3 separate regions of the Homo sapiens genome follow, and all the other regions are linked to region 1. Evidence: promoter capture Hi-C in 16 types of primary human blood cells and fetal thymus (Javierre and others, 2016). All regions are on one chromosome and are shown on one strand. Each heading gives the region's core, a stretch centred on a gene start or on the middle of the fragment in contact. The rest is flanking DNA. Distances are from core to core; before and after follow the strand shown.

Region 1 (5,023 bases), core at 751-3,250:
AATGTGAGAGAAACTGTCTGGTTATTCTTAAGTATGGGCAATGTTAGGAGAAAAGGTGCGTTTGACAGTAACAGCATTAGTAGAGGCAACAGTTTGCACGGTCATTCAATTTTCTCCACAGTGCTCAGCAGCCCAAGAGAGGACTGAAGAAAACGACCAATTTTACTCTGTTATCTGTGATTCCTTATCATTTGGTTTACAACATATTTGCAGCTTTTACGGAATTTTACCTTCCACTGTAATTACACACAGCTCTGGCTACCACTCCAGTCCTCCCCAGTGCCTAGCTCAACATTGGAAGTCAATAAATTCTGGTTAAAAGAGTGGATACAGTCACATAATATTTTAAAATATTACAACACAAAAGAAAATCCTGTGCTTCTCCACCACCTCACATGTAAATCAATGACATCATAAAGACTAAGCTTAACACTTCAGTCAATTGAGGTTTACAATAATGTAGCAGATTCGGATACACCCTTTAATTAGTCTGTTTTAACAAAACAAATCATTAAAAGTAATGTTGCCTTGTTTCTACGACAGTCTTAAATACAGCACTTCCACCCCAATACCTATTTCAAATGAAAATTCAGCTGAACAGTTAGCTAATTGCTTTTAACTCACAAACCCTAAATATTTGCATTCCACTAAAAGCAAAAGTTATTTACTTACAAAGTGTAAATGCTTTAAATTATGGCTATTTCCAATAGGCTTCACACATTTCCATAAACCTAGATTTCTCATTCTTTGGAATTAGATGCATTAGATCACTAGGGAATCTCAACCGATTACAGCCTCCTGATCCCGTCTGTTTACATTCCATCTGCACACACTCCCCTAGACGCAACTAAACAACTGGTTTGGGATGAGCATCATCAACAGCACCTTGTGGCTCATCAAACACCATCTTTACTCAATATGGGTTAAGAACCACACCTGAATGCCAGCACTGATATCTAAGTAACTCTAAGAGGTGGGATGTCATTTTGCTGACTGGAATATTGAACAATCTGGGGACAGATATGCCTGTCCAGACCCAACACAAATTAACAAAAATCCTAAACACAGATAAATCCTAAAGAAAAATGTCAACTCATTTTCTTTAAAGAAAATGCTGTCCATTTAGAGGAGGAGAGGGCCAGCGAGAAAAAGGGAAAACGACCCCCGACTCCCAACACATCTTTTTCTCCATACGGGAAATACAAACATCTCTTTGAAGCGGCTTCTACAAAATCGGATGTTCTAGAGTCCTGAAGGAGCATTGGTCCGGGAACTAAAACAGCCAGCCACCTCCTGGCCACCTGTGTCCAGGTAGAGCAAGGTAGTTTGAGGATGCAGGGTTAGGTTTCGGAAAGGGTCTTCACGCCCAAGCGGACCAAGGCAAGAGAGTCGGCGATCCAGAAAGTGGAGGGCTCGGGCGCTGTTCAGGGGGAGAAAATGGGGCAGCGGGGAGAAAAGAGGATGGGTGCTTGGTTCATATCCCAGCTGTTAGGGCACCAGGCAGGTCGAATCCTCTGGTTGAGACCAGAGCCTCCACTGTTACGCTCCCAGAGCTTCCTTTACCCCCACCCCCGGACACCAACCCGCGCCCACACACCTGCCCGTCGACCCGCAGGTGGCATTCTCTCGGTCAAGGGCACGAGGTGAGAAGGGCAGGGTGCGCCGGGACCCTGTGCAGGTAGCCCCAGCTCACCTGGGAGAACCGGGCGCCCCAGGCTCCTCGCCTCGGCCCCCTGGCCCCCTCGCCCTCTCGCCTCCTCGCACTCACCCAGATCATGAGGCTGTCGCACAGGGGCAGCTTAGGCTGCGGCGGCGGCTGCGTCTCCTCCATGGCCGGCGCCGCCGTCGACGACGCCGCGGACACCTTCACACTCCCTCCTACCGGCTCTCCTCCAGGAGCCGGCGTCCACGACCTGCTAGCCCCCAGGAAAGCTCGGTACCAGGCCCGACCCGCGCAGCTCACGCGCGAACCCTCGCGCTGTCGACGCGTCCGGCGTCACCCCCTCCTCACCCGCCCCCGCCTCGCTCCAGCGTTCGCCCCCTCCCCTTCCTGGGCCCCGGCCGCGCTGCCAGGCACCTGAGCCCCGCCTTCTCCCACCCCTCCCCTCCTCCCACCCGTCCTGCCCACTCCCGCACACCTCGCCCCGCCGCCCTGAGTGACCTGGCCGCGCACCAGTCACAGAGACGGTAGGTACCCGGGGGGGCGGGCGGGGCGGGGCGGGGGCGGGAAGAACCGGGATAGGTTGCGCAGGGGGGATTGCTGATTGGACGTGCCCTCGTGGGCTCTGGCCAATCAACGTGAGACAAGCCTGAGCCTTGGGTAGAGAGTGAGAGTGGGTGGGAAGAGGTTTATGACCTGGCAGGTGCAGTGAGGGCGGGGGTGGGAGGTTGCGCGCGGGAAGCGAGCGCGCGTGCGCGGCGGGGATTGGTAAGGCTGAAGCTCAGCCCCAGTGGCCGAAGAGGCAGAGGGGCAGCAGGGCACCGGCTGGGCTCAGGCGTCTTCCCTCCTTCTTCGCGGTAGCACGCCGCCTCGCTACACCTGTGGAGGGCCCACACTCTGCTTCCACATTGTCTTCAGAAATAGATCCTACCGGCTGGGCGAGGTGGCTCACGCCTGTAATCCTAGCACTTTGGGAGGCTGAGGCGGGTGGATCACCTGAGGTCAGGAGTTCGAGACCCGCCAGGCCAAGATGGCGAAACCCATTCTCTACTAAAAATACAAAGATTAGCCGGGGGTGGTGGCACATGACTGTAATCCCAGCTACTCAGGAGGCTGAGGCAGAAGAATCGCTTGAACCCGGGAGGCACAGGTTGCAGTGAGCCGAGATCATGCCACTGCACCCCAGCCTGGACAAAAAACCGAGACTCTGTCTCTAAAAAATATATAAAACAAAATAAAGAAAGAAAGAAATAGATCATACCCATGAATTAAAACTCTTCGAGGAAGGAAGAGCTGATTTCCTCCTAGGCACTCATTGGAAAGGGATGTTTTCATTTGCACACGTGGCAAATATGCCACATTAATAAGGAAAATAGAATCCGTCAGTGCTCCTTAAATAAGCTCTCACGGGACCATAGATCATGAGCAATTTTATTTTACATGGGGCAAAAGGGAAGACCGTTTTCAAGTAGCAAAATAAACGAAATGTTTTGAAAAACATGGAAGATATTAATGTATCCATTTTCCTTTGTCAGTTGAAAATTTGCTTTTTCCGAGAATGTTGTGGGGTGGAGGGGGGTCGGGGGAGGTGACCTGAAATTGGAAGCTCTCCAAGGTATTGATAGATGGCTTAGGTGATTGAAAAGGGCTAGACTATTCTTAGTCTTGCTGTCACTTCACTCATTCATAAACTCATCAATTCATGCTCTGAGTAAGAAAACAGCTGGCTTTTTTTTATATTGCTGCGTTTTTATATTTAGACACTGAAAATTTAAAACTGATGGACGACTGCAATTAAAAGCCCCCAAGTGTAAATCAGTCTCATTCTAAAAATACAGTATGTACGTTTGCTATTGACTCCCTTAACATTATTCCAGAACTTTCTTAACGCCTCTGGAGTCACTTTATATGCTGGAACTAGGTACATTGGTAATGTGATTTAATTAAAACTACAAGATTTAGGAATTGAAGACCTGGTCTGAATCTTGACTTTATTCCCCACTGGCTGCTCTCCTATAGCCCCCAACCTCCACATTCCTAAGATCATTGTAATTAAAATGTAAACATACATGGTAAATGTAAATTATAAACTTTGTAAATATGAGTTACTATTATCATCTATACATATGGGAAACTTCTCAACATATTTATCACTGAGAGCCACAAGTGACCAAATTTCTCAAATAAAATAATTCGTGAGAGTAACTTGGTGGGGGGGGCAATTAAGTTATGCTTCTGGACTTTATAGAGAGTAAATTATCAGGGAAGGAAAAATTTAACAATTTTTATCAAGAAACTTTAAAATATCCATATCATTTAAACCCATGATTCCAATTTATTCTGCGTCAGTCATAAATTCTGTTGAAATCATCAGAAGTGCATTTGGAGGCTTTGAACAATGATATGTATGGCAATGCTATGTATTGATCAATTGTATAATCGATTGATACAATGCCCAATAAGCAAGGAAGGCTAAATATTTTACAGCAGATTCAGTGCTCTGGAGAATATTTGATAACTCAGGAAAGTTGTCACAATGTATACTATTAAATAAAATTTAGATGAAAGTATCAGCCATATGACCTCAATATTATAAATATTAGGTATGTATTTTAATATATACACAGGAAGAAGACAAAGGAATAATCATAAAACTGTTGTTATATTTATATACAAATGAAAAATGACTATTTTTCTAATCTTCCATATTTTCTAGGCTTTCTACAATTAGCTTATATTACTTTATAATCAGAAAAAAAGACTTTAGAAGAAATGCCAAATACAACATAAGTTATCATTTCCAACTATTAAATTGGCATCAGTTCTTTAGAAGTTGGCATCCATGTTTGGGGAGTTGAGTGAAACTAACTCTTAAACCCTAGCTGTGGGATTATAAATGGGTACAAAGTTTTTTGACAATATATATCAAGAGCCTTTAAAATGTTCAAAGTCTTTAAGCCAGTAAGTTCACTTTCAGAATCTATTCTAAGAAAATAATCATATGCCAACAAAGTTGTTGATTGCAGTACTATTTATCAAGCAAAAAGGAAAAGAAACAGCTATTAAATGTCTGAAAGAGAAGTGATTAAACACAGTAAGTTATATTTAAACAATGAAATGTATCATAGGCATTAAAATATTTTAAAATAAGTTTATTCAGGAAAATGCTTATCACATAATGTTAAGAAAAAAAGCCATTATGCAATCTGTGCATACAGCATAGATCCCAACATATACATAAATATATGGGCCAGGTGCAATGGCTCAAGCCTGTAATGCCGGCACTTTGGGAGGCTGAGGTGGTGGGAGGATCACTTGAGTCCAGGAGTTTGAGATCAGCCTGGGCAACATAGAGAGAACCCG
Region 2 (5,023 bases), core at 1,848-4,347, 1.1 Mb after region 1:
AGCCTCATGCCTCAGTAAGGCCTTCCCTGATCCTTCTGACATGGCCAACTCCTCTTATAAGTCCTTTAGCAACAAGGGCCCTCTTCCCTTTGCAGTACTCATCACAGTTACACTCCTGCATGTATTTGTGAGGTCACTGAAACTGCCTCTCTCTCCAAAAAGGCTGTAAATTACATGGGACAGGGCCAGCACTCATCACTGTATTTCTGACTCCTGTCATAGTGGACGGTACATAGTCCAGACTTGAAAATATATGCTGAGTGAATGCAGGTTTGCCTGGCTTGGAGAAACCAGTATCTACCAGAAGCCACCCTTTGACAATCCCCAAAGTGATCTACAAGTTTAACTTTCCCAATTTGTGAATGTAAAAGGAAAGGGAAGAAGAGCAAACCACAGAAAATTAGCAGTTGACAAACAGCTCCCTCATAACTAGCCAATTCTGAGTGCATCTTCTATAAAGCATTCTGGCTAGCTGGCTTCTAGCAAATATTTGTTGAATTGATGGAAAAAATGTAATCATTCAAGTCCCAGATTCGGTGCTACATCTGCCAGGAAGCCATTTCTGATGTGTACCAGTCTCCAGAAACAATTTCCCTGTCCCCTAAATGTTCAAAGCATTTCATCCTTCCCTTTCTGATAATACCTTTTATTTTGCAATAGAGTTATTTAGGTATTTGTCTCTCTCTTAGAAATTTAGCACTGGTTCTACTCCGGGCTCTCAGCAAAGGGCATCCGATGGGTATTTCATTGGAAAGGTTCTCTCAATGAGAATTCGTGAGCTCAGATTCATGAATTCAGACGTCCATAGGTAATGACAGGTAGGTAACATGAAGGAATGCTGTAATGATGTAGCTTTGGGGATGGGAGCTGTAGGCACTCAGGGATTCCTGCTTCACCTAGTAGGTCCCCAGTGACTCAGCGCCAGCAATCATTATTGTGTGAGAATGTGGGTCCAGCCTTGTGAGATTTTCTGATTGTTTTTAAAAGAAATCTGGATTTTATTACCTAATTAATCTTTACCCCTACTCAGACCCTCCATCCCCCAATACCTGGCAAGTGTCTGTTTTATAGTACGTACTCAGTTAGGATTTGGGGAATGAGTGAATGAATGAAGACCCAAATGGATAAGTGATACTTGAATGAGCCACTGTCTCTCAGAGGTACACACTGTGAGTTTGAATGTATTTCTGACTTTCCCTTCAAAAAAGATTAGTTAGGACACTTTTAAACCAATTTTCGATCACCAATTAAGGATCTACTGTGAGAAGTCATGTTTTTGTTTCCCATCCCCCTATCAGGTATTTTCAGGTCTGGATGGTCTTGACAGCTTTCTTTTTTTTTTTTTTCCCCTTTCTTTTTTTTGGAGACGGAGTCTCGCTCTGTCGCCCAGGCTGGAGTGCAGTGGCGCGATCTCTGCTCACTGCAAGCTCCGCCGCCGAGGTTCACGCCATTCTCCTGCCTCAGCCTCCCTAGTAGCTGGGACTACAGGCACCTGCAACCACGCCCGGCTAATTTTTTTTGAGTGTGTATTTTTAGTAAAGACGGGGTTTCACTGTGTTAGCCAGGATGGTCTCGATCTCCTGACCTCGTGATCCACCCACCTCAGCCTCCCAAAGTGCTGGGATTACAGGCGTGAGCCACGCGGCGTTCTAATCCAATTCAGAGAAGTTCCAATACCAGATATGTGCCCCAAATCCTCCAAATATTCAAAATGCAGCTCTCAGGACCTGTCATTTGTCACCTATTATATGCCCTTATTATATGGAAACTCAATTTAATAACTGTCAACACTTTCCTTGAGTCACTTGTTTCTATCAAATTGAAAACATTCGGCCGGGCGCGGTGGCTCACGCCTGTAATCCCAGCACTTTGGGAGGCCGAGGCGGGCGGATCACGAGGTCAGGAGATCGAGACCATCCCAGCTAAAACGGTGAAACCCCGTCTCTACTAAAAATACAAAAAATTAGCCGGGCGTAGTGGCGGGCGCCTGCAGTCCCAGCTACTTGGGAGGCTGAGGCAGGAGAATGGCGTGAACCCGGGAGGCGGAGCTTGCAGTGAGCCGAGATCCCGCCACTGCACTCCAGCCTGGGCGACAGAGCGAGACTCCGTCTCAAAAAAAAAAAAGAAAACATTCATAGAAAATCCATCCTTCTTTTCACATCTCCTGACTGAGACGCAGTTTAGATAATTTGACAGGTGAATGACAGACTCAGCTCTTTTGTAATTGTGAGTTACCGTTAGGATTTGGATATTTGTACTAAAATTTGCCCTTGTAATATCAAGCTTTAAAGGAGGGAGAGACTTCAGAAGTTATTTGGTTGAAATGCCAGTTTTACAGATGATGAAACTTGAGTCCAGGGAAAGAAAGCAATCAGCCAAGTGAGTTGTGGAGCTGAGATCCAAACTCAGGTCTTTGGAGTCAAACCACTTACTCATTGTACCCCTACGATATGCCAGATTTCCCAAACACTTTATCATTGGTTATCTCTAGTAACACCTCAAGAAAGGTGTATTATCTACATTTTACAGGGAAGGAAACTGGGCTCAGAAAGTTGGTATGATTTGTCGCAAGTCCTCCCAGCTAATAATAAGTCCTCCAGTTAACAAAGCTGGAATTGAAGCCCAGATCTGTCTGACTTGGAAGATAGAGCTTCTCCTACAACACTATGGTGGTAAAAGTAAAGGGAGCTTTGTGAAGATCACATTGCTACTGAGTGATGGATTTGAGATAAAAAAAAAAAAAAAGAATGCAAATGCTATCGAGAATTCCAAACTAGAGATTTCATCAGTTCCTGGGCCCCTGTCCTCCATACACAACCAGCATCACTTCCTGAATACCTGGACTAAAACCTTCTCAAACTTTACTATGCATACAAATCATCTGGGATATCTTTTGAAAATGTAGTTTCTGATTGAATAGTTTTTGGGTGGGGCCTGAGATTCTGCAGATTTGGAGATTCTTATGTGAGGCCAATAACCCTAATCCTGGGACAACATGGCTTCCTAAATTGAGATTCAGTTTTCAGCAGCCCCACCCCAAGATTGTCAAGCAGCAAAGTCTGTAAGGTGAGGGAGAGCAGTGTGGTTGTAGTGGGAGGGGACACAATGTTTGTTTAGTTATCATTTATCGAACATCTTCACTATGTGCTGGGCATAATGCTAAGGACTTTACAGGTATAACCACATTTAATCCCCACCAGAACCTTATGAGTAACTATTTGTGTCTACATTTTACAGATGTGGAAGCAGACTCGGAGTTTAGGCCAAATTCACACAGCTCTATCCAATTCCAAAGTTCATGTTCTCAACCACAATGACAACTTTCTCCTCAATGAGATTGTTCCCCTTATACCCACAGCAAGTCTGAATGGCACTTTTGAGGGGGAAGGAGTCTTTGTGCAGACATTGCTAAGCTGATGTGGACAGCACAAACCCAACACCGAAGAATATCTTAGACCAGATGTTGATCAACTTGCTAGAGGAATGTGCCAAAGATTCATTCACACCCAGACAGAAATAAGCGTAAACAGCTTGAGTGAAAACTCAGAAATAACTTGCATACTCAACAATTAAATAATGATTAAATAAAACATAGTATGTTAAGCAATGGGCATAATCAATAGGCAATGGATATACAGATTTCAGGTAGGGTGTTTGCTAGTACAGTATGATCTGATTTTTGTTAGAGAAAAGTTGTGTGTGTTTGCATATAGGAAAAAGATTGAAATTAAGTACTCCAAAAATATCTCAGTAACATTTGGATAAGATTATTACTGTTCATGTTTTTCTTGTATTTTCTTTGTATACTTATCTGTTATTTCTCTTTTTTCCATAGCAGGTTGTATCATTTGTATAATAGCTGAAAGAAATAAAGACATAAAAATGCAACAGAAGCCAGAAAAAAAGCTTTAAAATGGCAGATATTAGCTCAAATTATAAAGCTATAAATATTGTAACAACTGAAATTGGGAAATAGACAATTCAGTGGAAGAGAATAGAAAGTCAAAGACCCATAAGATGTGGATATATAAATAACTTACTTTTTCTCTTGGAGTGGGAAGGCTTTCCTAAAAAATAATACAGAACTATTATGCAGAGGCCCCCAAAAATACTATATATTCAGATGATAGACCATTGACCAACAGGTAAATATTTCTAACCTATAAGACAAATAAATAGGACTAATTTTCTTAATATATAATGTGTTCTTATAACTCAGTAGAAAAATTGGCAAAGAATATGAACATCTGTTCTTGAAGAAAGGAGAAAAAGAGCAAGAGAATGGATCTCAGCCATAGAAGCATTTAGGAGGGAGCAGTGTTTACCTGGCGTCCACCTTTGTTGATAGTGTTTTTGTGTAATTATCAAGGTAGAAATTCAAACCATAGTAGAACAGAAACAATCCCATTCGTCACATCTGACCACGAAGGGATTCATCAGTTGCTTAGTGGGAGAAGAATAGGAAATTCATACCAGAATCCTATTTCACAGTTTATAATTGGTTATATAAAATTAGGCCTAAGCTAACTGCATAACAAAACATACCAGGAGGGGAAATGAAATGGCATCAAGAATGAAAAGGATGCTGACAAAGGGACTTCAATTCCATCTCGTCCTCTAGCTGTGTATCCTTGAATGGCCTTGCTAAACCTTCCTTCTTCATCTATAAAATGGACATCAGAAATCCTATTTATGGTGTTTTTCTGTGAAAAAAAATAAGATGGCATATGTTAAGCAGTTAGTGCTCAACAAATAGTAACTGTATTACATCCCCAGAATTATTATTATTATACTATACACATATATATAGGGCAGGAACAGGGTCAACACTATGAGCCTCCTCCACAGGACTGAGCAGAGAGCAGATCCTCACTGACTACTGCATTGGGACAGACACCACAGCCTTGCTGCGACACAGGTGGAGCATGGTTTTGCAGTCTTGCCAAGTTCAGGACCCTGTACCAGCACTGACTCCCACTTAGGGAACCTCTCAGGATCTTTGTTTCTTCATTTGGGGACAATT
Region 3 (5,023 bases), core at 815-3,314, 1.0 Mb after region 1:
GGAAAGTACTCCCCTAACCTCTTTTCTGCATCATCTGTAGATACTAGCTATCTAGGTGGAGTTGAAAGAGTTAAGAATGTCGATTAAAATCACTCTCAGTGCTTCTTACTATTAAGCAGTAAAAACTGTTCTCTATTAGACTTTAGAAATAAATGTACCTGATGTACCTGATGCTATGGTCAGGTTATACTCCTCCTCCCCCAGCTATCTATATGGAATTGCTTACCAAAGGATAGTGCGATGTTTCAGGAGGCTGGAGGAAGGGGGGTTGCAGTGGAGAGGGACAGCCCACTGAGAAGTCAAACATTTCAAAGTTTGGATTGTATCAAGTGGCATGTGCTGTGACCATTTATAATGTTAGTAGAAATTTTACAATAGGTGCTTATTCTCAAAGCAGGAATTGGTGGCAGATTTTACAAAAGATGTATCCTTCCAATTTGGAATCTTCTCTTTGACAATTCCTAGATAAAAAGATGGCCTTTGCTTATGAATATTTATAACAGCATTCTTGTCACAATAAATGTATTCAAATACCAATAACAGATCTTGAATTGCTTCCCTTTACTACTTTTTTCTTCCCAAGTTATATACTGAAGTTTTTATTTTTAGTTGCTGAGGTTAACATTGCTGCAATCTGAAGTGATTTGAAAATTAAGAAGCAAAGAATTTAGGAAGAGTCAAACTAGAAGTTGTGATCTGAATGAAACAGTCTCCCAATTTCATTAATTCTTTCCCTCTTTCTCCATCTCTATCTCTCTCTCTACTACCTCACCCCCAAATAAACCCCTATGCCTATGGAAACTAACAGTTTAGCATTTTGGGTCTGTCTGTAGCTTATTTCTTAATTTGTTTCTAAAATAATCAACCTTGTTTAAATATAGAATAAGTCTCAAAAGATAGTAATCTAATACTATGGAAAAGATTCACAAGAGAAAACATGAACTAGTACTAACTCAATGATTACATGCGTAAATCAAACCTCAGCTCTGGGGAAATGGGAAACTTGAATTCTACCTACAGATATAACTTAGGAGATCAACAAGGCAGTGCTTAACAAGGGAACAATTTTTTGCTTGGTTGCTTTTCATACCAAGAGCCAGTGTGATTATCAGGCAGCAAAAGCAATTTGATATCCAGGAATATTTCACAAACCACTAATTGAGTCAGGGCTGTTTGCTCATTAGCAGTGTTCTAGTACCCAGTAGGTCTGGGAGTGCTAATATCCTGCCTGTGGCTGTAAATCCAAATACACAAAGAGTTTCTCCTTAGGAGTATATCTAGGAGTGGAAGAGATTGGACAGGCTTGTTAGCTTCGGATCCTTTGTAATAACACTTCTTGAACAAAGGGTTACTGGGAGCAGAGCCCAGTTTGCCAAACTGAATTTGCCGATGTCAGCAACCCGGAAGGTGAGATGATTTTGACCATATGTAGAAATAGCAGAGGGACAATAAAGCATTTTGGGGTGGGGCTCTGTGGAAGCTAAACAAGAGCCAACTAGAAAAAATAAGCAGGCTGGGGAATTAATTACCTGCAAAGGTAGACTAAGCCCAGACAACAGTACAGCACAGAAAAGCCACACCACTCCCCAGTTTGCTTTAGATTTCAGTGTTAAAAAAAAAAAAAGTCTGAAACTCAGGCCTATCCCCATGCTTGATTGTTTCAATTAACATTCTAAATGTATATTCTTGAAATTCTAACCATTCTAACCAAAAGGGGTAGAAAAAAGTAATTGTGGTAGAGGAAATTAACCCATGATCTCTGGTAAATTTTGGAGACAAAAGATTAACTGCTTATAAACACTTAATGGTTAAGCTTATTATGGGCCTTCAATGAGTTAATCTTTGAATTAAGGTAACACTAATAGTTGGAGAAGATGAAGCTGGTGACACATCGTCATTAATCCTCTTAATTTTTTTTACACATATATATATGTTACATATATAAAATAATTCAATCAAGGACATTTAACCCTCTCTGTCTATCAAGACAGAGGGTTCATGAACTCAGTGAAAATGCCCAGAAAGTTGTGTTTGTGTGTCTGTACACACTCTTCTGAGGAGAGAAATTTTTGCTTTTATTCGACCCTCCCAGAGTTCCATGACTCAAAAAAAAGGGTTAATAAACCATGAACTGACCAGCTACATGCCCACTATCAGAAACATATCATTGTATGGATCTAAATCCCATGCTCTTTCACCCCTTCATGTTTCTGCTTGCATGTATTTGCCTGGAATACCTTTCCTTCTAGTTCAACTGATAAATCCTACCCATTCTTCAAGTCTTGGCGTAAGTGACACCTTCTCTGTAAAGCTTCCCTTAGTAACTCCATCTTCAAAAGGAATGAATAATTCCCTAATGAGCATGATAACATTTTATCAAAAATCCTATGATAGCACATACAAAAATGTATTATGAACCTCTGTGTCTCCTGGTCAGAACCCTATCTTCTTCATCAATGGACTCCCAAACTTTTAATGTAGCGCCTGGCATATAGTAGATGTTCATAAAATAAATGTTTGATGACTGAACGAACAAGTGAGCTCAAACCCTCCTCCAACATAATTCCAAGTCTTAGTTTCTTCTAGTAAATATACTTCATTCATTTCCAGGTGCATAACTCGTGATGGATCAACCCTCAAAGTCAACCTGGCCAACCCTCAAGTTCTAAAGCCCAGTACTTAGTGAGTGTTCTTAAAAGAATTAAGCTGTTAGCACATTCATACATCCAGCCACACACAGTGTCCCTTCCTGCCTCCACTAATGCAGGTGAGCATCTTCTTACATTAAATGGGTCTGCCTGAAACATTAGTTTTGAAGGTGGAAATGGAGCCTATGTGTGTCCTTGGGCAGGCACAAAAACAGTTCCAGATGTGTCTTCATTTAAAACAACCAGCTTTATTGGTAATGAGAGAGGGGACTTTCTGTTAGTAAAATTAGACATATTTCAGGGGTCCAGAAGTTAGTACCCAATGTTTGCTTGCTGAGACAGGAATCATGCTAATCCATCTATTCCTCCATGTCATTTCATTACTAGAGAAGTGCATTCATGAACCAAGGAAAGAGGCCATGACTTCTGGTTTGATTGTCCCTTGCCTCCTCCACCCACCTCTATGGTGGTCAAGTAGGATCTCATAGAAGAGGGGAAGAGGGTTAGCAGCTGGGATGGCCCCAGAATGTAAAACTATTCTTTCCTAACTCTGGAACCTAACTTGAGTTGTTTGGTTTTGGACTTTTGAACATCATAAAGCAGGGCATTCCTCTGGTCCTGAGTCTCTTTGAGGCCCTCTGCTTGTCTGTGGGGATTCAATGATGAGCAAAATATAATCCCTATTCTCAAGGAACTCACATTCTGGTAGAGTGGAATGTGGAGATGAAATAGAAACTATTCTAAAGGCACAAGATATATGCTATAAGAAAAAGGTGCCAGATGGGAGCAGAAGGAGACATTATTAGAAAATGCTTTATGGGAGAGGTGACATTTGAGCTGATCCAGTGGGCCTTACCAGGCAGAAAAGATTGGAAAGAAACGTGCATGCAAAGGCAGAGAAGTATGAGAAAACGTCTTGTGTTTAGGGACCTGAAGGCTGCTTAGAGAAGCTCGGAAGAAAGATACGAGAAGAAAACTGAAGGGAGAAGAGGCAGGGAAGTTGAAGGCTTGGGTTGAGATTTAATATCCATTCCATGTTATCCTATAGGTGACGGAGAAAGCAGGTGAATTTGAAACAGAGTGGGGACATAATACCCTCAGCTTAAGAATGATTCATGCTGGCAACAGTTTGGAGGATGGATTGGTGAAGAAGAAGCTAGGTAAGGGGTGAAATACCAAAGATAGGTTTTCAGTTTTATTTAGAATGCCTGTGGTATTTAAAGTAGTCTTACAGTTGGGGGACAAATGGGAAGAAGATGGCTTGGTCCAGGCTACATCATGCCACCTTTCTTCTTATGTAACTTTCTGATGAGTTAGGCCTAAAGAGGGATACCAGGAGGTTTGCTTTCCTCTTATGCTACCTGCTCCATGCTTACATTTTCCTCTCCATTGGGTCCATTTGATACCTGAAAGAAAATCTTCTCACAAAATGGTCTAGAGCCCACCTGTTCAGAGTCAGGAAGCTCAAATAAACAGATGTGAATGAAACAGACCTGCACCCGTGTAGGCCAGGCCTTCCAGGGTTATAGCACAGAACTGGTCTTCACTGCTGCAAGACCAAACCTGACTTTATCTGGTCACCTAGAATTGATTAAGCTCAATGAGGCTAGTTGACCCAAACTTTATAAACTCTTTGATGTATAAACAAATTATGTTGAGGGAACTGATAATAACATTTTACATTCCCATAGCACTCATTTTCTACCACAAGTAATATTGAAATCCTATTTTGTGCCAGAAACCAGGAACACAGAAGAGTGAAAGCAACAGGATGCCTTCCCTCATGGAGTTTCTCATCTAGCTAAAAGGAACAGTAAATAAACACACAAGGCCAGGCATGGTGGCTCACACCTGTAATCCCAGCACTTTGGGAGGCTAAGGCAGGCATATTACTTCAGGTCAGTAGTTCGAGACCAGCCTGGCCAACATGGTGAAACCCTGTCTCTCTGCTGAAAATACAAAAATTCGCTGGGCATGGTGGTGGGTGCCTGTAATCCCAGCTACCCAGGAGGCTGAGGCAGGAGAATCACTTGAACCCAGGAGGCGGAAGTTGCAGTGAGCTGAGATGGCGCCACTGCACTCCAGCCTGGGCGACAGAGAGAGATTCCGTGAAGAAAGAAAGAAAGAGAGAGAGAAAGAGAGGGAGGGAGGGAGGGAGGAAGGAAAAGAAACACACAAATAAATATATGATTAAAGTGCAATGAAGAAAAAGAACTGGGCACTAATAAAGAGAAGATCTAAATTGGGTTGGCAACAAAGTATTTCTGGAGAACTACTTGAGCTGAGAAATCTTAGACTAAGAGTTCCCCATGTGAAGAGCAGATGAATAGGAGTGAGACATCCCAGGTGAAGAATCAGCATGAAGGAGAGCCTGG

What was found. The method cuts DNA at HindIII sites, captures the fragments that hold promoters and counts their contacts. A CHiCAGO score of 5 or more calls a contact.
Region 2: a fragment that was not itself captured here is called in contact with the fragment with the promoter of HOOK1 in region 1 in 7 of 17 cell types (naive CD4 T cells, naive CD8 T cells, non-activated CD4 T cells and 4 more); the score reaches 9.9 in naive CD4 T cells.
Region 3: a contact is called between a fragment that was not itself captured here and the fragment with the promoter of HOOK1 in region 1, in 9 of 17 cell types (naive CD4 T cells, non-activated CD4 T cells, total CD4 T cells and 6 more). The highest score is 14.7, in naive CD4 T cells.

The regions. Positions count from the first base shown.
Region 1 is chr1:59,811,926-59,816,948 of GRCh38, reverse strand. HOOK1 (hook microtubule tethering protein 1) reads right to left here and starts at 2,000. Exons shown (of 22, transcript NM_015888.6): 1 at 1,769-2,000. The coding sequence starts at 1,831. LOC105378758 (a long non-coding RNA gene) reads left to right here and starts at 2,083. Exons shown (of 5, transcript XR_947426.3): 1 at 2,083-2,187. RefSeq lists an enhancer at 1,133-1,696 and a silencer at 1,933-2,532. The HindIII fragment of the contact is 6,303 bases long and covers 428-5,023 here.
Region 2 is chr1:58,757,323-58,762,345 of GRCh38, reverse strand. LOC112268263 (a long non-coding RNA gene) reads right to left here. Exons shown (of 9, transcript XR_007066129.1): 7 at 4,546-4,703; 8 at 4,041-4,067; 9 at 2,149-3,859. LOC105378751 (a long non-coding RNA gene) reads right to left here and starts at 1,333. Exons shown (of 4, transcript XR_007066137.1): 1 at 1-1,333. The HindIII fragment of the contact is 1,623 bases long and covers 2,286-3,908 here.
Region 3 is chr1:58,776,305-58,781,327 of GRCh38, reverse strand. It overlaps JUN (Jun proto-oncogene, AP-1 transcription factor subunit), which reads left to right. Exons shown (of 1, transcript NM_002228.4): 1 at 1-537. Among named protein-coding and RNA genes, the nearest start is that of JUN, 5.2 kb to the left of the region's middle. The HindIII fragment of the contact is 498 bases long and covers 1,816-2,313 here.